2 separate regions of the Homo sapiens genome follow, and region 2 is linked to region 1. Evidence: promoter capture Hi-C in 16 types of primary human blood cells and fetal thymus (Javierre and others, 2016). All regions are on one chromosome and are shown on one strand. Each heading gives the region's core, a stretch centred on a gene start or on the middle of the fragment in contact. The rest is flanking DNA. Distances are from core to core; before and after follow the strand shown.

What was found. Contacts are between HindIII fragments. The CHiCAGO score rates a contact against its expected background, and 5 or more counts as called.
Region 2: a contact is called between a fragment that was not itself captured here and the fragment with the promoter of SRSF12 in region 1, in 2 of 17 cell types (total B cells and naive CD8 T cells). The highest score is 5.9, in total B cells.

Annotation. Positions count from the first base shown.
Region 1 is chr6:89,115,023-89,120,846 of GRCh38, reverse strand. SRSF12 (serine and arginine rich splicing factor 12) reads left to right here and starts at 2,776. Exons shown (of 5, transcript NM_080743.5): 1 at 2,776-3,024. The coding sequence starts at 2,960. It also overlaps a transcript of PM20D2 not described here. RefSeq lists a silencer at 2,923-3,192. The HindIII fragment of the contact is 10,924 bases long and covers 1,316-5,824 here.
Region 2 is chr6:89,645,057-89,650,880 of GRCh38, reverse strand. It overlaps MDN1 (midasin AAA ATPase 1), which reads left to right. Exons shown (of 102, transcript NM_014611.3): 96 at 34-149; 97 at 683-857; 98 at 2,552-2,625; 99 at 2,735-2,849; 100 at 4,278-4,341; 101 at 5,724-5,824. The region is part of intron 1 of MDN1-AS1 (MDN1 antisense RNA 1); the gene reads right to left. Among named protein-coding and RNA genes, the nearest start is that of LYRM2, 9.2 kb to the right of the region's middle. The HindIII fragment of the contact is 192 bases long and covers 3,279-3,470 here.

The DNA.
Region 1 (5,824 bases), core at 1,527-4,026:
GAATGCAGTGCACTGGCACAAACATAGTTCACTGCAGCCTCCAACTCCTGGGCTCAAGCAATCCTCTTGCCTCAGCCACCTGAGCAGCTAGGACTACAAGCATGTGCCACCATGGTTGGCTAATTTTTTTTTTTTTAATTTTCTGTAGAGATGGGGAGATTCTCTTATGTTGCCCAGCTGGTCACGAACTTCTAGCTTGGAGCAATCTTCCCAACTTGGCCTCCCACAGCACCAGGATACAGGCATGAGTCACCACGCCTGGCCAATATATTTTTAACTAAATAGGTTAATCGTTTACATGTCTCATGAATTGATTTTTCTCCACTTAACAGTATGTCAGGGATGAGTAATTGTGACTACCCACCAGGTCAAGTTTCTTTTCTTTGGTCAAGTTTTTTATTTGCAAAGTCAATGTAGTGGTTTGAATGGCGGCCCCCAAAAATACATGTCCAAGTCCTATCTCCAGGTATGTATCCTTATCTGGAAAAAGAATCTTTGCAGATGTAAGTGAGGATTTCAAGATGAGATCATTCTGAATTAACCAAGTGGGCCCTAAATCCAACGACAAATGTCCTTATAAGAGATAGAACTGGATAGGATAGATGGCTGATATCATTTGGCTCTGTCCCCACCCAAATTTCATCTTGAATTGTTAGCTCCCATAATTCCCACGTATTGTGGGAGGGACCTAGAGGGAGATAACTGAATCATGGGGGCAGTTCCCCATACTGTTCTCCTGGTAGTGAATAAGTCTCACGAGATCTGATGGTTTTATAAGGGGAAACCCCTTTCGCTTGGCTCTCATTCTCTGTCTGCCACCATGTAAGATGTGCCTTTTGCCCTACACCATGATTGTGAGGCCTCCCCAGTCTTGGGTATGTCTTTATCAGCAGTGTGAAAACGGACTAATACAGTGGCTCACACCTGTAATCTCAACTTTGGGAGGCCAAGGCAGGAGGATCACTTGAGCCTAAGAGTTTGAAATCAGCCTAGGCAACATAGACTCCATCTAAAATAAAAAGAGAGAGAGACAGAGAAAGAGAGAGAGAAAGACAGGAGGCCATGTGAAGACAGAAGTGGAGACTGGATCTATGTATCCACAGCCAAAACATGTGTGGGGCCACCAAAGACTGGAAGAAACAGAGGATTCCCCTAGAGTGCCTTCAGATAGATGATGGCCCTGCGGACACCTGGATTTCAGACTTCTGGCCTCTGAACTACAAGAGAATAAATTTCTGTTGTTTCGGGCCACCAAATCTGTGGTGCTTTGTCATGGCAGCCCTAGCCAACTAACACATGGTAAGCATTCTAAGCTTTTGTATTATGAATCCAGCCTGCTCTCCAGCCTCATTTTCCAACTCTTCTCCAGCCTCATGCTCCTGTTTTGCCTCATTTACTATATTGCCTCAAAGCCTTTGCACGTGCTGTTCCACTGCACTAATTACTCTTCTCCATTCTTTACCCATCTCTTCAAGACTTGTTCAGGGAACATAAGTGACCCTCTAGCCTTGCTCACCATCCCACAATGCCTGCTCTCAGCAGCATATAGTTCTTTTCATAGCCCTGTATTATAGTTTGTATCTTTACCAGTGTGATTGTTAGATTCTGCCTCCCTACCAAATTCTAAGCTCTAGGGGAATAGGCACGGTGCCAGTCTAGCCCTGTGCCTGCAGTGCCAGAGCAATCCCTTCTGAATGAAAGAATAGCCACCGTTCCAGTACAGCTGCAGACCCAGGAACCTCCACAGCCTCTGGGAGGGCTGTGAGCTAGAAGGGTGACCACGACATGTATTCTTCAAAGCCTACCACTTCTGCGAGCGAAAAGGGGCACTCTTCACACTTAGGAGTTGCCTGGTTACACTCCCAGCCCTGAATAACAGGCTGTGCCTGCCGGCCACAGGAGCAAGGCGAAGACGAGTCTAACTAGAAGGGGATGGGCTACAACATTTTGGGGGAATAGGGAGAGGGTAATTTAAATTTTGCTTAACTGTCCCTGCATTTAAACTGTTGTCTTCTACATCATGTATTCATTTGTACATTCGTTTGTCCCCCCTCTAGAATGTAAGCTCAGAGGGCGGGGCTTGGCCTGTTTGTTCATTGCTATATCCCACGCTAAGTGCCTGGCGCATAGTAGACGCTCAATAAACATCTGAATGAATGTACTCACAGCTGAGTGTTATGCCCCAAGTGAATAAAGGATGAAGAATCATATAATACTTAAAAATCCAACAGGCCAGGCGCGGTGGCTCACACCTGTAATCCCAGCACTTTGGAAGGCCGAGGCGGGAGAGGCTTGAGCCCAGGAGTTTGAGACCACCTGGGCAACACAGCGAGACCCCGTCTCTATTAAAAAAACAAATCCGAACAAAACCGAGACCTCACAGTTGGAAAGCCGAAGGCTCAAGACCAGAGGGGCAGGAGGCCTACCAACTGCCAAGGTCCTGCGCTCAGGACGATGCGCTGAGGGCCGCGGAGGCTGAGCGGGGGCGCGGTTGAAAGCGGCTCTCACTGACCCCACCTCCGCCCAGCCGCAGCCCCGCCACCACCTCTGGGTCCTCTAACCCCCGGCGTCCCCGCCGCGGCCTCAAGCCCCCTCTTGGCCTCCGCCCTCCTGACATACACTGGCCCTCGCCGCCCCCTCCCCAAATCCCGTCGCACTCCAGGACCCCCCATACCCGGATCCCATAGGGCCTGGGAACGGCCGCGCTCCTGTCTTCGGAATTCCCGCGGCCCCTGGGCCGCGCCGGCGCCGCCCCCGCCCCCGGCCCGTGCGTCCAGGCTGGCGCCGCGCTGCGCCCCCTCTGCGCCGGCCTCTGCGGCTGCGCGCTGGCGGGGCTGAGGCCGAGGGGTGGGGGTCGCGCCGGGGGCCGGCGGAGCTCCTGTGGTGGTAGCAGCGGTAGCGGGAGACGGAGCGAGTCCAGCGGCCGCGGGCAGACCCGGAGGGAACGGAGGAAGCGGTCATGTCTCGCTACACGAGGCCCCCCAACACCTCCCTGTTCATCAGGAACGTCGCGGACGCCACCAGGTGAACGGCCGCGGCTGCAGGTTGGGGGCGCGGAGGAGGGGCGGGGTAACAGCCGCGCCGCGGAGCACGGCCGAGGCCCGGCGGAGGCTCGGGGGAGCTGCGCGGAGCCTCCCCGCGGGCCCAGGCTGCGCCACTTGGGGAGGTGTGAGCCCTCGGACTACTCCGCGGCCCAGGGCGGAACTCGCGCCTCCGCCCTCCCGGCCAGCTTTCAGCCCCGGCGCCGCGCACATCGTGTCCCGGGCCCGCGTCGCTTTCCGCGGTTCAGCACCGCAGCCGGCGGGCCGTGGGACACGGGGCGCCCCTCTCCCGAGCTCAGGTCGCTCCCCGCCGGGAGTCGGGAGGGTTTGCGCTCCAGCGAGTGCCCGCGTTTCAGCTCCTTTGTCGCCGTGCCCCGATAAAATCGCGCGCATCCAACCCTCCTAGATGGAGAGGAATTGGGGCTGGTGAGAACGTTTTGTACCATAATGCGTACTCGGGCCTTACAGTTTCTTTCCCCCAGTTCTGGTCTACTTACAGACGGTGCTGCTTGCATTTTATTCACACAATTTTATTCTGCATACAAAAAATAACTTCAATGAATGAGATCAGTGCGTTTTTCTTTAAAGTTCTGAGTCCAGTATTAACACCCTTTTTAAGGGCGTGAGTATAGGCTCACCTGGTTGATTCTGATGCCCCACCCCTCCGTTGAGAATTTTGTCTACAGAGTGTCTGAACACAGATACTAAGGAATGACTTTTTCATATAGCACTTCCTTCCTTAATGGAGCTGAAGAAATTGGGGGCGGGGGGAGAGGGAACGGTGTTAATAGACATTCTCATTTCACTGGGCTTCATTTACTTCCCCCCAGCCTTTCTACCTATGCAGTACTGTTTTATTGTACATAAGGGAGAGCGGAAACTAAGAGTTTTAATGATTTACCTGGGGCCAGAGAGGTATAGATACATGGAGCTCTTGACTCCATAGTCATCTGAGATGAGTATTATAATTTACCTTTGAGGAGTAAATAAACGTTAAGTATTTTTTATTTTTTAGTTTTTTTTTTTTTTTTAGACAAAGTCTCGCTCTTGTCCCCCAGGCTGGAGTACAATGGCCCGATCTTGGTTGGCTGCAACCTCTGCCTCCCGGGTTCAAGCGATTCTCCTGCCTCAGCATCCAAAGTAGATGGGATTACAGGCGTGTGCCACCACACCCGGCTAATTTTTATATTTTTAGTAGAGATGAGGTTTCATTATGTTGGCCAGGCTGATCTCCAACTCCTGACCTCAAGTGATCCGCCCAGCTCGGCCTCCCAAAGCGCTGAGATTACAGGCATGAGCCACCGTGCCCGGCCAAGTATTTTTTATTTGATCACCGCAAGTACATGTATCACAACTATATGTTGTGGTTAATATATCTTAGTTAACATCTAAAAGGTGCCTTGTTTACATTTCTTCTGTCAGCCTTTTTATCAATATATTACATAGAAAACACGAACATAATTTATGATTTGGGCAGAATTAAAAAACCTTGCAGTTGAACAGACAACTTGAAAATGGAATAAGCATCAAGCCTCTTCAGGGTGTCTGTAGAAAAATCAGAGGTTTCCAATTCTAATGGTTCACAGGGGCCAGCCGGGGTAATATAAACGAGTGAAGCTGCCAGCCTATAAGGCACAGTAGGATGGTGTGGACTATCAAATAGAAATAGAATAGCAAATAGAAAAGGAAATATGCCATCTAAAAGGTGCAGCATCTGCCTCTAGGCTCCAGCTGACAGCTGCCATGTAGACATCTGGACTTATTGTTGATATATCTTACTAGTTGTAAAGAGAAATCAGAAATCTGGATTTTGTATGTGTAATCTTAGTCTTTAGATGCATTAAGTTGAATCATATGAAAATCCCATTCGTGGCCGGGTGCGGTGGCTCATGCCTGTAATCACAGCACTTTGGGAGGCTGAGGCAGGCGGATCACGAGGTCAGGAGATGGAAACCATCCTGGCTAGCACGATGAAACCCCGTCTCTACTAAAAATAAAAAAATTAGACGGGCGTGGTGGCGGGTGCCTGTAGTCCCAGCTGCTCAGGAGGCTGAGGCAGGATAATGGTGTGAACCCGGGAGGCGGAGCTTGCAGTGAGCCAACATCGCGCCACTGCACTCCAGCCTGGGAGACAGAGCGAGGACTCCGTCTCAAAAAAAAAAAAAAAAAAAAAAGAAAGAAAAAAGAAAACCCCATTTGTAGATTTGAAAGCTGTAAAATATAAGGCTGGGCGCGGTGGCTCACGCCTGTAATCCCAGCACTTTAGGAGACCGAGTTCGGCGGATCACTTGAGGTGAGGGGTTCGAGACCAACCTGGCCTACCTGGTGAAACCCCGTCTGTACTAAAACACAAAAATTAGCCAGGTGTGGTGGCTGGCGCCTGTAATCCCAGCTACTCAGGAGACTGAGGCACGAGAATCGCTTGAACCCCAGAGGTGGAGGTTGGCAGTGAGCCGAGATCAGGCCACTGCACTCCAGCCTGGGCGACAGAGTGAGACTCTGTCTCAAAAAATAAATAAATAAAAGAAAGCTATAAAATGTAGCCTGGTGTATGACACCTGTAGTCCCAATTACTGGGAAAGCTGAGGTGGGAGCCCGGGAGGTCACTTGAGCCCGGGAGGTCAAGGTTACAGTGAACGATGATCACATCACTGTACTCCAGCCTGGGTGACAGAGAGACCTTTAGAGAGTCTAAAAAAATAAAAGCTGTGGCCGGGCGTGGTGGCTCACGCCTATAATCCCAGCACTTTGGGAGGCCGAGGTGGGCAGATCACGAAATTAGG
Region 2 (5,824 bases), core at 2,125-4,624, 530 kb before region 1:
CTGAGGGTAACTTACATTTTGTTGTTGTCACAGGAGAAGGTTGCAGCTGAGATGTGGCAGAGTTACCTGATCTTAACAGCGCCTCTTTCACAACGGTTATGTGAAGAGCTTCGTCTCATATTAGAGCCTACCCAGGCAGCCAAGCTGAAGTAAGTCTTCCCCTCTGGAAGGCCTCACAGTGCCCTGAGAAGACGGCAGCTTCATTGATTCTGTTGAACGCGGCACCTAACCATTTATAGTGCCAGCTTCTAGGCTGCCGCTTGTGCCGTACAGGCACCAGTATGCTGTTCCTTACCCTGTTTTCCTATTATTGTCTCTGCACAAAAGTTTCTGGGTGTCTGTATTGATCACCTTGTTACATGTTGAGCTATTCACTTGCTATAGGTGTTACTCACCTAGATCTTTTCAAAGATGTCCAAAATCATTCCTATTTAGTGCATTTTTTCCTAATTTTTAAAAATGTGTCTGGAAGGACCTAATTATTATTGCCACATACGTGTCCAGTTTTTCTGGCTAGAGGTCAAGAAGATCCTTAGTCGTCAATTGACAGAAACACTTCATTGTGCCAGGTTCCTAGTTACTTGCTATTGGTTTTAAGGTATTATTGTGATTTTTGTCCTTAATAAAAATTCTCAGGAATTAAAAGTTGTTAACTAATTTTTGCCCCCATTTGAATAAATAGAGGAGACTATCGAACTGGGAAACGACTAAACATACGGAAAGTCATTCCATACATTGCTAGTCAATTTCGGAAAGACAAGATTTGGCTTCGAAGGACCAAGCCCAGTAAACGCCAGTATCAGATTTGTTTGGCTATCGATGACTCTTCTAGTATGGTAGACAATCATACCAAGCAGGTAAGGAAGAGAAATGCAGTGGCAGTTTGATAGGAAATTAACATCAAGCTATGTTCCATGGGCCACCAAAATGCTTTAAATATGATATGGCTAATGCTTTAAATATGATATGGCTAAAACATTTTGAAATACCTGTTAGGCCTGTTTTGAGAATGTGATAACCATCTTTGATAAGACCTAAGATTTAAAGAGTTCAAAAGGGCAATTTTAGGATGTCTCAGATGTGTTAGTTTCTTACTGTTGTAGGTCTTTTACATTGTTTTGTTTCTTGACCTTGCTGTTTGTTCTTAACTGTCTAGTTGCAGAATAAGTAAATCTGATAGTGCTTGTTTTGCAGAAAATGCAACAGTGTACTCTTAAAAAAAAAATCAAAGTTTTCAGATATTACTGCATAGTCTTAGATAGTTTAGGTAGGTATCTAGGATACATTTCTTTTATATCTGAAATTATCCAGAGTTATTGTTCTATCAGTGCTAATATTAAGTTTAGGAGCCTTAATAGAATTACTTATACCACCATTACAGATGCCAAAGAGTGTTTGTTTTGGGCAGTGATGCTGTTATACAGCATGGGCTAATAAGCAACCTAAAATTTGTATGTTCTGCTGGAAAAAGTTAGTGTAGCCTCTGAACCTGGGTTCATATCCCAGCTCCATTTATTAACACATGACTTTGGGCAACTTATTTCTTAGTTATCAGTTTCACCTTCTGAAAAGTGAGGAATATATATATTTACAAGCACACATAGAATAGTAATAACCTCATACTTGCAGAATTGTTATGAAGATTAAATGAAATAATAGATGTAGAACACTCAGTTTGCTGCTGCTTTTGTCATATTGCAAATGGTAATGAAATTTTCTGATATAGTTCTACAGTCTGATCTGACTACATATATATGAATGGATTTTAAATTGGTTTTTAAAATTTTTTACCTACAAGAGGTTACTCTTCATGTAGGTCCAAAAAAGAAGAAAGAAAAATTCATGGACCATATTTCTCAAGGTCACTTTCTTTCTTTTTTTTTTTTTTTTTAAAGACAGGGTCTTGCTCTGTTGCTTAGGCTGGAGTGCAGTGGCATGATCATAGCTCACTGTGGCCTCAACCTTCTGGGCTTAAGCAGTACAGTCCTCCCACTTCAGCCTCCTGAGTAGCTGGGACCATAGGTGTGTGTCACCATGCCCGGCTAAATTGTTTTTTTTTTTTTTTTTGAAGACAGGGTTACAGGGTTTCACTCTGTTGCCCAGGTGGCTCACTGTAGCCTCAACTTTCCTGGGCTCAGGTGATCCTCCTACCTCAGCCTCCCAAGTAGCTGGGACCACAGATGTGGGGTCTTGCTGTGTTGCCTGGGCTACTCTTGAATTCCTGGACTCAAGTGATCCTCCCTCCTTGGCCTCCCAAAGTGCTGGGATTACAGGTGTGAGCTACCACGCCTGGCCCTCAAGGTCACTTTTTATTCGATGTCTACAGCAGACCATTCCTATCAGTGTAATGGATTCTAGGTTTCAACATTTGTGGTACCAGGCCACCAAAGCCTTTGGGTTTGTTGTGACTATAGTAGCCTTACTGATGTTATTCCTCTACTTGCCAAACAAAAAAATGTTTTCTTTGGGAATCTTGATGCAAAAAATAGTTGAGAGGCTCTGGTTTAGAGGATATTCTGATTCCTAAAATCATTAACTTTCTAATTCACAGCTTGCATTTGAATCTTTGGCTGTGATTGGAAATGCTCTAACCCTCCTGGAAGTGGGTCAGATTGCAGTGTGTAGGTAAGGTTGCTTTGTAATTCCTTTATGAAAACTTTTCACAACCTGTTTGGTTATTTTGATCACACAGCCAAAAAATAACTCCTGTTGTATTTGGTTTTCCTCCCCCAAGTTTTGGAGAATCTGTAAAGCTGTTACACCCATTTCATGAGCAGTTCAGTGATTACTCTGGGTCCCAGATTCTACGTCTCTGCAAATTCCAACAAAAGAAAACCAAGATTGCTCAGGTAAGAGGATGAAATAAAATGTCTTCTGCACAGTTATTTTTAAACTGGTGTAGGTTGGAGGGAGAACATTTTTATTTTTGAGACAGGACCTTGTTCTGTCACCCAGGCTAGAGTACAATGGCGCCATCATAGCTCACTATAGCTTCGAACTCCCGGGCTCAAGCAGTCCTCCTGCCTCAGCCTCCCTAGTAGCTAGGACTACAGGCGCATGCTACCATGTCTGGCTAATTTTTATTTTTTGTAGGGACAGGGTCTCACTTTGTTGCCCAGGCTGGTCTAAAATTCCTGGGTTCAAGTGATCCTCCCTTCTTGGCCTCCCGAAGTGTTGGGATTACCACCATGCTGGGCTGAGAACCACCCTCCACCGCATACAGTATTAGGACAGGGATAGTCCCAAACCTCAGCCTGTGTACCACTGGAATAGAAGCTTCCTTAGCATCCATTATAAAACAAGGTGTGACTTCTTTTTCTCAGTTCCTCAAGGATCACTTGACTTTGCATCATTGGTTTTCTAGCTCCCTACTTTTTTTTCCGAGTAGTTTGGAACATTCTGCAAAAACAAACCCATCTCCCATACCCTTATCAGCTGGGCCAAGACCTATTTTTCTCCCTCATTAAGCTTAGAGAAGAAATGATATGAAGTAAAGCCAGTGACTTACTTAAGAGAACAAAAGTTCAAAACAGCATGGGATCATATTTCTCCTGGGTCCTGCTCTGATTCAGTTTGCTTTTTCTAGGCTGCCCTGGACATTTTGTATTTTCTTGCCTTCTCTTTTGCTCAGTTGTTTTCTGTTCTTGAAAGAAGACAGCTGTTTGGTTTATTTGAGGGAGTATTGATTTCTTATGCCCCAGGGAAGCACTTCTTTTCCTTTGGGGTATCTTCCAGAACTCTAGTGGGTTATATGTTAGAGAAACGTCTCACCTGTGCTTGAGAATGCCTGTATCATCTAGGCATGGTGGCTCACACTTGTAATCCCAGCACTTTGGGAGGTTGAGGTGTGAGGACCGCTTGAGGCCAGGTGTTCAAAACCAGCCTTGTCAACATAGTGAGACCTCATTTCTACAAAAGACAAAAATAATTATCCAGGTGTGGTGGCACATACCTGTAGTGCTAGTTACTTGGCGGCAGGCTGAGGCAGAGCCCAGGAATCGAGGCTGCAGTGAGATGAGATCGTGCCACTACACTCCAGCCTGGGTGACACAGTGAGACCCTCTCTCAAAAAATAATAATTAAAAAACAGAATGTCTGTATCCAAGGATCCTCCTTTTTTAACTACATACGGCCAGAAGGGACAGTTAGTTGATGGTCTGTAAACCTGAGGTGGTTATCTGATAATCACTTCAATGTCAGAAATACTATCAGTCTCTTTGACAATGAGAAGAGCATTCACATAGTTTTCTAATTGTCTATTCCTGGTTCCGGTTTAGTTTCTAGAGTCTGTTGCCAACATGTTTGCAGCTGCTCAGCAGCTCTCGCAGAACATCAGTTCAGGTGAGCTGCATGCCTTCCTCTTCATTAACAAAATGCTTTCTTGTACTCTATATTCCCAAGCTGCTTGCTTCAGCTCAGTGTCCCCGTCACTGTGTTTTAATAGGTATGCTCCACAGGAAAAGACATAAATTGATGGAGCTGATTTTTACTTATTTATTCATTCATTCAGAAATTTTTGTTGAACCTGTACTCATGAGGCTTATAATCAATGGGGGATCTAGACACTAACTAGTATATACTTACTTGAGTTCAGATTTATAAGAGAAAGGAGCAAGGTGTGTGTGGAATTAAATATAAAGGCTACAATTAACCCTTGAATACCACAGGTTTGTCTGTACAGATCAGGTCTACTTACACATGGAGTTTTTCCAACCAAAAGTGGATTGAAAATTCAGCATTTGAGGGATGCAAAACCCGAGTATATGGAGGGCCAACTTTTCATGTATGCGGGTTCTCCAGGGCCATCTCTGGACTTGAATATGTGTGTATTCTGGTATACTGGGGGTGAGGGGGTGTGTGTCCTGAAACCAGCCCCCTGCAAGTACTGTATTCTCTAATATTTTAATAACAGAGGAAAGTAGAGAAGGACATAATATAAAAACCAGCTAATCCAACCACATTTACTTTGGGGGCTTGAAACATGCCAATTATTTAGTTCTTTTCCAAAAATCTCTCACTGTTCTCAGTGTATCATGCAGAAGCTTCAGATTTTGATGGAAGCAAGTTATTCACACCTGTCAACATTTGCTAAAACAGCCCACCCTCAACTCATGTACTATATAATCTTTAGCTGGAAACACTATGTAGCAAAAATTTTAAAACATTTTATTCAGTGTTGAGTGTTTCCTTTCTATTTGTTTTTGTTTAAACAAGTCAAATTTCAAGGGCAAAAAAATATAGAAATTAGGTACAAGGAATTAACAGAAATCTAAAGATGATTATATGTAACGACTGAAATTTGGAAGACACAGTTCCAGATTTCTGATTTGGCCACTTTCTTCTAATGCCCTTCTCAGTACTATCATTTTTAAAGTTTATAGCCATAAACTAGTGTTTTAATTCTCATGTACAGTATGTTGCTCTACAATTTGAAGTTGAGCAGAACTTAACATTTCTTGAAGCACTATTGAGAAATTCTTCTATACTGACAGAAGCTTACTTAGTATCCCTTATTATGCCTTGTCTCTGACTCAAGCATTCTAAGGGATAGATCTCATCAGAGGTCCCTTAGGTTTGTGCCCAGAATTCATCAGCTTTAGAGGTCTGTTTAGCTTTAATAGTACAGAGAAAGCCTACACTAATTTGTCCTACTTTGGGTAGTTGTGAGTTATTAAAAATGGCTGTTCATTTTATTCCCTTGCTTCGTCTTATATGGTCTACAGAAACTGCACAACTCCTCCTGGTAGTCTCTGATGGGCGAGGCCTTTTCCTTGAGGGCAAAGAAAGAGTCCTGGCAGCAGTTCAGGCTGCCCGGAATGCAAAT